Linked DNA regions of Homo sapiens: region 2 is linked to region 1. The links are contacts of gene promoters, found by promoter capture Hi-C in human tissues and cell types (Jung and others, 2019). All regions are on one chromosome and are shown on one strand. The core of a region is centred on a gene start or on the middle of the fragment in contact, and the rest is flanking DNA. Distances in the headings are between cores, read along the strand shown.

Region 1 (4,812 bases), core at 1,482-3,981:
ACAAAGTGCCAGGAATATAGGCATGGGCCAGTGTGCCCCGTCTCTTGAGACTGAAATGAAAAATTGCTTGTGGTTTAAATCCCCAGAATTTAATGAAACATGGGAAGATGGCTAAAGATACGTATAAACTTTGGTTTGCATTTTATTAAATTATTTGAATGCAAAACTTGTATAAAGAATCCATTATGTTCTGTAGCTTTCTAATTAAAATGTTCAACATGGAAGGTTGTATTAGCTATTTTTGAAGCAAGGCTTTGGAGGGAGGAAGAATAGGGAGGGCTGAAGTTGAGCACACTTCTCCGAGTTACTCACCAGTAGCCTTGCTTTGCCACGGCTCTGCCCAAAGACCTTGGAGCTTTTGTTAGCTCTTTGGCAAAAGTTTCCTGGTCCAACCCCAAGTATATTAGTTTTTAGTGGAATCCACATGGCATATGGGAGCTGCGGGTTGGAAAATTACAACTGTGTCTGGTGAATATCAAATTATTTACGGATCATTTATTGGTAGTTTCTGAAACTGAACCACACAGCATAGTTGCAGGAGGAAGAAAGGTAAGAAATACACAGGATTTTATCAACTGAGCTGAAGCCATAGATAAGTCATATTTGAGATAATTATTGAATTTGTTTTGTGGGAGAGAAATCTCTAATTCTTCCAAATGATTAGTCCAGTTTCTGCCAAAGCAGGTGAGGTGTCTAATGCCCCACTGAGTGCCCATCTTGAAGCTTATTAAAGCAATTCTCTCTCTTTGCGTCCCTCTTACCTTATCCTCCACATCCTTGCCCCCTCTCCTTATTCATGCTTTGTAAAGAGGTTTTGGAGCTTTCTGGCCAGATAACTTCTAAATACTGATTAAGGAAATGTAAATTACATGATCCTAAGGAAAATAATGATTGCCGGCCAATCCCCTACCCAGAGTTATGGTTGGCCTTCTGGCACACATCTTTCTATCCCATACACTATTTCTAACTTTTTAAAAATCATGAACAGGCCGGGCACGGTGGCTCATGCCTGTAATCCGAGCACTTTGGGAGACAGAGGCGGGCAGATCACATCTGAGCTCAGGAGTTCGAGACCAGCCTGGACAACATGGTGAAACCCTGTCTCTACTAAAAGTACAAAAATTAGCCTGGCGTGGTGGTGGGCACCTGTAATCCCAGCTATTCAGGAGGCTGAGGCAAGAGAATCACTTGAACTCGAGAGGCGGAGGTTGCAGTGAGCCTAGATCCTGCCATTGCACTCCAGCCTGGGCTACAAAAGTGAGACTCCATCTGAAAAAAAAATCAGTATCAAAATCATGAACAACACTTATATGAACCCTGTACATAAATCCTTGTTTCTGGTTTATTTCCTTAAGATAGCTCCTAGAAAGGAATTACCAATCCGAAAAGCTTACGACCATTGTCAAGAATCTTAATTCATCTTGCCAAACCACAACCAGGAAGGACTGCTTATTTCTTCTCCCAGCAGCAGGGAGTTCTTGATTAAGATCCCATCACTAATTTGACAAGACCTAGAAATGCTTCATCCTTTTCAGGTGCCTGGGCTCTGCCCTGTTATTTGTAAAGGGGATTTTTTTTTTTTTTTTTTTTGAAACAGTTTCGCTCTGTCGCCCAGGCTGGAGTGCAGTGGTGCAATCTCAGCTCACTGCAACCTCCGCTTCCTGGGCTCAAGCAGTTCTCCTGCCTTAGCCTCCTGAGTAGCTAGGATTACAGGTGCCTGCCACCACGCCCGGCTAATTTTTGTATTTTTAGTAGAGACGGGGTTTCACCCTGTTGGCCAGGCTGGTCTCGAACTCCTGACCTCGTGATCCACCCACTACGGCCCCCCAAAGTGCTGGGATTACAGGCGTGAGACACCGCGCCTGGCCGGATTTTTTTTTTTTTTTTTTGCGAGGGAGTCTCGCTTTGTCGCCCAGGCTGGAGTGCAGTGGTGCGATCTCGGCTCACTGCAAGCTCCGCCTCCCGGGTTCACGCCATTCTCCTGCCTCAGCCTCCCGAGTAGCTGGGACTACAGGTGCCCGCCACCAGGCCTGGCTAATTTTTTTGTATTTTTAGTAGAGACGGGGTTTCACTGTGTTAGCCAGGATGATTTCGATCTCCTGACCTCGTGATCCGCCCGCCTCGGCCTCCCAAAGTGCTGGGATTACAGGCGTGAGCCACCGCGCCCAGCCCTGGCCGGAAATATCTTATTTATTGAAACGTATCATGTCTTTATCTGGACCTGCTATGAACCTGCGCCTCTGGGCCTAGGCTAGGGCAGGGAATGCGCAGGAGGAGGGGAAAAGCTGCGGACCCAGCTCCTAAGGCCACCTGGTCTCTCCGCTCTTCCCAGTTGGGACACTGCACCGGGTCCATGTGTCATCCAGGTGCCGTGGCCTTGGGAAGGGTTTGGATTCCAAGTCACCTCGCCGCAAGGATGCCCCCGAGAGTGAGGAGGGTCAAGATTAAGATTCGACTTCCTTCACTAGGGCCTTTGTCCTCCCAGGAGCCCCCCTTCTCTGGGGATTTGGGGTGGGGTGGGGTACAACGTTCCTCTGTAGTCAGATGAGAGGTGACTCTGCCAGCGCCCTTTGACATTCTGGGCTAAAAGTTGAGCCTCTCAGAGCCCCAGCCCACCTGGGCCCTCCTGCCCCGCCCTCGGCCGGCGCCCCTCCCCCGAGGCGTGGCCCCTCGGTCGGGGGTGGGCCAACCGGCTCCTTCCTTCCCCCACGGCGCTAGCTCCCGCTGGCCACCTCGGGACCGCAGCCACGTCTGAAAGCGCCTCATTGTGTGCGCTCGGGCGGGCTGCACCGGGCAGCGCCGAGGGTTGCCGGCCGGCGCGCGGGGAGTAGAGGGCGCGGGCCGCAGTGCCGGGTTCCAGAGGGAGCTCTGCGCCGGGTCCTTCCCTGTGGTAGCCCCAGGACACCCCCAGCCTCAACATCCCATTCTGGGACTCCTGCCCTGTTCCCACATTCGTTCTACCTCGAGTCTCCAGGAGCTTCCAGTGGCTTGGTCACCGCCAACTCTCGTCCATGCCTCTTAGAGCCCCTTTCCCGGCCTCACCGGGTGTCGCTTAATAGTCTTGGGACCTTAAGGAGCAAGTCAGCCCCTGCGGACCCTCCCAGTGAAGAGAAAGAGCTGGCTGTGCGGTGGAATTTGGAAGAGACGACGTTTGGGAGCCTTTGCTGAGTCCAGGGAGAGAGGCGTCCCCCACCGTGCCGCTGCAGCTCGGGCAGAGCCGCCAAGCTTTGGGGTACGTTGGTTCTTCATTCTCCGCGGGGGATGTCCCCACACTCGGGTCGGCTGGGGGCCGGGCTGGTGGCACAGCTGGGGACGCTCCTCTGTCCTGCACCGGGGACCTGGGGTGGCGGGAAGAGCTGGGAGTGGCTTTTCCATCAGCAACGTGGAAAGGGCATCGCCGCTGTTGGCGCCGGTTTGGAAGTGTCTTGCTGGGGCTTCGGCTGCGCAGGAGAATCCTCACTGCGAGGGGAGAACCCCTTTTGTCTCGATACTTGAGTTTCAAAGGACATGACTTTCAAAAGCTCTCCAAGGGCTTTTTCCATAGAATTATTGAGAGACGGTAGCTTGGCGGGTTGATTTGGAACCAGACCCAGGGGAATTGGAGTCCTGCGTCACTGCTTCTGACGGCTTCATCTTGGGCTTCAGGACAGGCCCTCTGGGCCTCAGGACAGGTGCCTAGCAAATGTTGACTTTCCTTTCTCCTCCCTTTTTCACAGAGGCAAGGCAGTCAAGTTTCCCATTTTTGAGGATGGGAAAACTGAGGCCTGAAGAGCAGAAAGGAGTTGGCTGACTTAAACCCACAAGCGAGTAGGCCAAGTACCAGGGCCTCTGAGGGTGCTATGCTGCTCCGGGAGCTGGGGCTGGGCTCCTCTCCAGCCTGAGAGGCCGGAACTTTTCTGGCTTTGTTCTACAAACAGAGTCAACTGGAGTATAGAGAGCCAGAGAGTGACTTGCTCTAAGTCACACCCCTCACTGGTAGTAGAGACAGGATTTGAACCCAATCCGGCTTCAGAAGCCAAGCTTCTAAGGCCAGTCGCAGTGGTTCACGCCTGTAATCCCAGCACTTTGGGAGGCCGAGGCAGGTGGATCACCTGAGGTCAGGAGTTCAAGACCAGCCTGGCCAACATGGTGAAACCCCATCTCTACTAAAAATACAAAAATAAGCTGGGCATGGTGGTGAGTGCCTGTAATCCCAGCTACTTGGGAGGCTGAGGCAGAAGAATCACTTGAACCCAGGAGGCGGAGGTTGCAGTGAGCTGAGATTGCGGTACTTCACTCCAGTCTGGACAACAGCGAGACTCCATCTCAGAAAAAACACAAGCCAGGCCTCTAGCCATGACTTTCCAGCGTCTTCTGTTTTGTTTGCCCTTGTGGGGACCCTGTCTGTGCCTGCCACATTCTGTTGCTGGGGCACTGGGGCACCTGAATCTGGTAGAGCCATTGTCCTTGGGTTTTCCTCATTCAAAGACTTTCCCTTGGATTCATAGAATATAAGTGTGGCCCAGGAAGGAAGATTGCTAAGCAAATACTCATAAGTGCACTATGCGCCAGACTTTGTTCTGCTTTACAAATATCCACTCACTCACTCTTTCAATCAAGCCCATGAGTTGGGTTATATTGTTTCCCCCACTTTACAGATTTTTTTTTTTTTTTTTGATACGGAGTCTCGCTCTGTCACCGAGGCTGGAGTGCAGTGAAAGTGACATAATCTCGGCTCACTGCAACCTCTCCGCATCCCAGGTTCAAGCGATTCTCCTGCCTCAAATTCCTGAGTAGCTGGGATTACAGGCACCCGCCACCACGCCCGGCTAA
Region 2 (4,812 bases), core at 1,548-4,047, 42 kb after region 1:
GAAGCCTGTGTAAAGGGAATAAAAATACCTTCATAAAACTGTGGTTTTCATTGATCTGGGGGAAAAAACACACACACTAACAGTGTGCTTACAGTGCTAATACAGCTTCAGTAAAGCTTCTGGTCCTCCTCTCCTCCCCCTTTCTAATCCCCTCAAGCGGATTGATGCCCCTGACTGGTCTCTTTTAAATTGTTTATCCCAATAAGCTCATTCTTCCTGAGCAGTTCTTGTGAAAACAAAAGCTTTGTTTTTTCTTACCTTGTTTTTCTTTTTAAAGTCTAGCTCTCTTGCCCTCGGCTCATTGCGACCTCTGCCTCCTGGGTTCAAGCGATTCTCGGGCTTCAGCCTCCTGAGTAGCTGGGATTACAGGCATTTGCCACCACGCCCGGCTAATTTTTACGTATTTTTAGGAGAGACAGTGTTTCACCATGTTGGCTAGGCTGGTCTTCAACTCCTGGCTTCAAGTGGTGGGATTACAGGCACGAGCACCATGCCTGGCCTATCTAATAATTATTTATTAAATAAACATGCTCAGTACATAGAAGCATTTCCACATGAGTGTTTATTGTGTTTGTTTTCTCAAAAACAGGATCTTATTCTACATGCAACTGGCTTTTGTTACTTCACAATGTGGCTTGGGCATCTTGCCCCTTCAGTATATATACATCTATTGCATTTTTTTTTTTTTTTTTGAGACAGTGTCTCGCTCTGTCACCCAGGCTGGAGTGCAGTGGCGTGATCTCGGCTCACTGCAAGCTCCGCCTCCCGAGTTCACACTATTCTCCTGCCTCAGCCTCCCAAGTAGCTGGGACTACAGGTGCCCGCTGCCTTGCCCAGCTAATTCTTTGTATTTTTAGTAGAGACGGGGTTTTACCGTGTTAGCCAGGATGGTCTCAATCTTCTGACCTCGTGATCTGCCTGCCTCAGCCTCCCAGAGTGCTGGGATTACAGGCGTGAGCCACTGTGCCCAGCCCATCTATTGCATATTTTAATGGGACTTTGTAGTATTACGTGGGTGCACAGAATGTGTTTTCCAAATTCTGCAGTGATAGCCATGCAGGTGACTTCTAGTTTTTGATATTATGGACAATGCTGTTGGGACCTTCTTGTTACCTCTGTCCTTGCCTACCTATGCTTTTCTGTGGGGTGTATCCCCGGAAGTAAAATTGTTGCAGCAAGGGCCATGCACATTTGACTTCCAAATTACCCTGCAAAAAGGTGGTTTTCCAGTTTGTATTCCAACTAGGAGTGTCAGGTGGGGCCTGTGGAATAATGTCATGACAACCGTTACTGCTCAAAACCTATACTGGCACTTTAGATCTTTTGTGAAGTCCTTAGTCTGGTGTCAAATTCCCCAAAGGGTTTCCCTCATCTGTCTTTATAGCTTTAACTGTCATTGCTCTTTTATTTTTTTGAGACGGAGTGTCATTCTGTCTCCCAGGCTGGAGTGCAGTGGTGTGATCTGAGCTCACTGCAACCTCTGCCTCCTGGGTTCAAGCGATTCTCCTGCCTCAGCCTCCCAAGTAGCTGGGACTACAGGTGCCTGCCACCATGCCCGGCTAATTTTGTGTGTGTGTGTATGTGTGTGTATTTTTAGAGAGACAGGGTTTCACTATGTTGGCCAGGCTGGTCTTGAACTCCTGACCTCGTGATTAGCCCACCTCGACCTCCCAAAGTGGTGGGATTACAGGTGTGAGCTACCACGCCCGGCCATCATGGCTCTTATAAAGCCTCTGTGCTTTGGTAAAGCCCGTGGTTTTTAATCAGGGTAGTTTTGCCCCCTTGGGGACATTTGACAATGTCTGGAAATATTTTTGGTTGACACAACTGGGAATAGAGTGCTGCAGGCCAGAGGTGCCTCTCCATATCCTGCAGTGCACAGTGCAGCCCCCACAATGAAAAGTTATCTGGTCCAAATGTCAATAGGGCGGAGGGCGGTGGTCAAGAAACCCTGCTGAGCTAAGCTCTTCACTGATCTCAAAAATCACTTGCTACTTACCTGCCTCTAGCCAAGGATGGACAGTGGGTTTTATCTAATGTGTCACCGCCAGTCCCTCCCTGTGGGTAGCTGGAGAGCTACCTTGAGGATTCTAAGGCCTTGCCTTGGGTTCACTGGGGGGAAATGCTACATGGGCCATTTAACAAATTGTAAAGTCACATTCCAGCAGGATGGTTTTGTTTTCTTTATATGGGTGCCTCATGCATAGTTTTTCATACATAGTTGATGATTATATGTATCTTAATGTTGCCTGAGTTACAGACACCTTAAGAGTGATTAGAGTTCTGTAGGAGCCAGCTCTCCTAACCTGCACTGTTGTTTACCTGCCATTTGTCTTCAAGCCAAACATTTATATTTTCTGGTATTTATTTCATATCCTAAAGAGCTTTGAAATCCTAATAGGAGGTGATGGCTTGATATTTACTGCATTGTCTTTCAAATGATTGTGGAATGAATATAATTGTATAGCTGTCCATTTTAGAAGACTGAGTGATCAAAAGGTCAGGAAAGATCAACAGGCATTGATTGCATAGTACCGTATCAATTGGCTCTTTGGCTTGTGCCTCTTATGGGGGAATTATTTTTGTTTGGGTTTTTTGGTTTTTGGGGGAGTTTTTTGAGACCGTCTCACCCTGTTGCCCAGGCAGGAGTGCAGTAGCATGATCTTGACTTACTGCAACCTCTGCCTCCCAGGCTCAAGCAATCCTCCCACCTCAGCCTCTCGAGTAGCTAGGACTACAGGTATGCAATACCATGCCAGGCTAATTTTTGTATTTTTTGTAGAGACAGGGTTTCGCTGTATTGCCCAAGCTAGTCTCAAACTCCTGGGCTCAAGCGACCTGCCCACCTTGGCCACCTGAAGTGTTGGGATTACAGTCGTGAGCTGCCGTGCCCAGTTATGGTCGGGGACATTATTTAGGTCAATTTTGAAATCTAGATGAACCTTTTTTTTCAGTTTGAGGGTACAGAGATTGGTCAGCTTTTTCTGTGAAGGGCCAGATAGTAAATATGTTAGGCTTTATGGGTCATGTGGTCTGTGTCACTGTTATCAGCTTTGCCCTTGAAGCTGGAAGGCAGCCATAAACAATACTTAAATGAAAGGGCATGGGTTGAATAAGTATGTGTGTGCAAAACTCTTGTAAATGGTTTCAGATAAGTGTGTATGTATAAAAGTATTATGAATGGGTTCAGATAAGTGTGTAAAAAACAGGTGGTGGGTCTGTAGGCAGTAATTTGTTGAACACACTAAAACCGTCAATATTTGGATATTTGACTGATGAACCCTACTTTGCAAGTAAATGATGTTGAAGGCCGGGTGCGGTGGCCTCACACCTGTAATCCCTGCCCTTTAGGAGGCCAAGTTGGGCGGATTGTTTGAGCCGAGGCATTCAAGACCAGCCTGGGCAACACGGTGAGACCCCATCTCTAAAGAAAATACAGGCCAAGCGCAGTGGCTCATGCCTGTTATCCTAGCACTTTGGGAGGCCAAGGCGGGCAGATCACCTGAGGTTGGGAGTTTGAGACCAGCCTGGCGAAACTCCCACTGCACTCCATCCTGGGCAACAGAGTAGTGAGACCCTGTCTCATAAAAAAAGAAAATTAAAAAAAAAAGAATTTTGCCAGGCGTGGTAGCACACATCTGTAGTTCCAGCCACTCCGGAGGCTGAGGCGGGAGAACACCCAGACCTAGGAGGTCAAGGCTGCAGTGAGCCATGATGGTGCCATTGCACTGCAGCCTGGGTGACGGAGTGAGACCCCGTCTTTAAAAATAAAAATTTTTGACTGGGCGCGGTGGCTCACGCCTGTAATCCCAGCACTTGGGAGGCCGAGGCGGGCGGATCATGAGGTCAGGAGATCGAGACCATCCTGGTTAACATGGTGAAACCCCGTCTCTACTAAAAATACAAAAAATTAGCCAGGCGCGGTGGCGGGTGCCTGTAGTCCCAGCTACTCGGGAGGCTGAGGCAGGAGAATCGTGTGAACCCAGGAGGCAGAGCTTGCAGTGAGCCGAGATCACGCCACTGTACTCCAGCCTGGGTGACAGAGCGAGACTCCGTCTCAAAAAAAAATTAAAAATAATAAAAATTTTTCAAAAAAAAGGAAAAAAGAAACGGTGTTGAAAATGAAATGACGGGTATGATGAGTACCCTCTGCAATGATTGTCCTGGGAAGGGCAGTGATTCACAACTTTTCTTTGTCTTCCCTCATAGAGATGTGGTATGGTGTATTCCTGTGGGCACTGGTGTCTTCTCTCTTCTTTCATGTCCCTGCTGGATTACTGGCCCTCTTCACCCTCAGACATCACAAATATGGTAGGTTCATGTCTGTAAGCATCCTGTTGATGGGCATCGTGGGACCAATTACTGCTGGAATCTTGACAAGTATGTTAGACATTAAAATACCAGTCAAAAATGTTTAATATGACTAGTCAATTTCAGGACCTATTCTAGAAAACATATCTGAGTAGGATGAAGGAAAGAGTGCCTTTTAACTGCAAGTCCAGACAGGGTCTCCCTATGTCACCAAGGCCGGAGTGCAGTGGTTGCAATATTGGCTCACTGCAGCCTCCACCTCTTGGGCTCAAGTAATCCTCCTCCATCAGCCTCCCAAGAAGCTTGGACTACAGGGGTGTGCCACCATGCCCCGCTAATTTTTTTTGTATTTTTTGTAGAGACAGGGTTTCGTCATGTTGCCCGGGTCTCGAACTCCTGAGCTCAAGCAATCTGCCCACCTTGGCCTCCCAAAATGCTGGGATTACAGGCGTGAGCCACTGTGCCTGGCCCAGTTTTTTTAATGTATTGATTTTTTTTTTC

What was found. The method cuts DNA at HindIII sites, captures the fragments that hold promoters and counts their contacts. A contact is called where the count stands out against the background at its distance.
Region 2: a contact is called between a fragment that was not itself captured here and the fragment with the promoter of CHST6 in region 1, in 1 of the 25 tissues and cell types used here (mesendoderm cells).

Annotation. Positions count from the first base shown.
Region 1 is chr16:75,493,360-75,498,171 of GRCh38, reverse strand. CHST6 (carbohydrate sulfotransferase 6) reads left to right here and starts at 2,731. Exons shown (of 3, transcript NM_021615.5): 1 at 2,731-3,232. RefSeq lists a silencer at 2,528-2,857 and an enhancer at 3,158-3,337. The HindIII fragment of the contact is 2,567 bases long and covers 1,057-3,623 here.
Region 2 is chr16:75,451,237-75,456,048 of GRCh38, reverse strand. TMEM170A (transmembrane protein 170A) reads left to right here. Exons shown (of 3, transcript NM_145254.3): 2 at 4,210-4,380. Among named protein-coding and RNA genes, the nearest start is that of TMEM170A, 11 kb to the left of the region's middle. The HindIII fragment of the contact is 5,235 bases long and covers 180-4,812 here.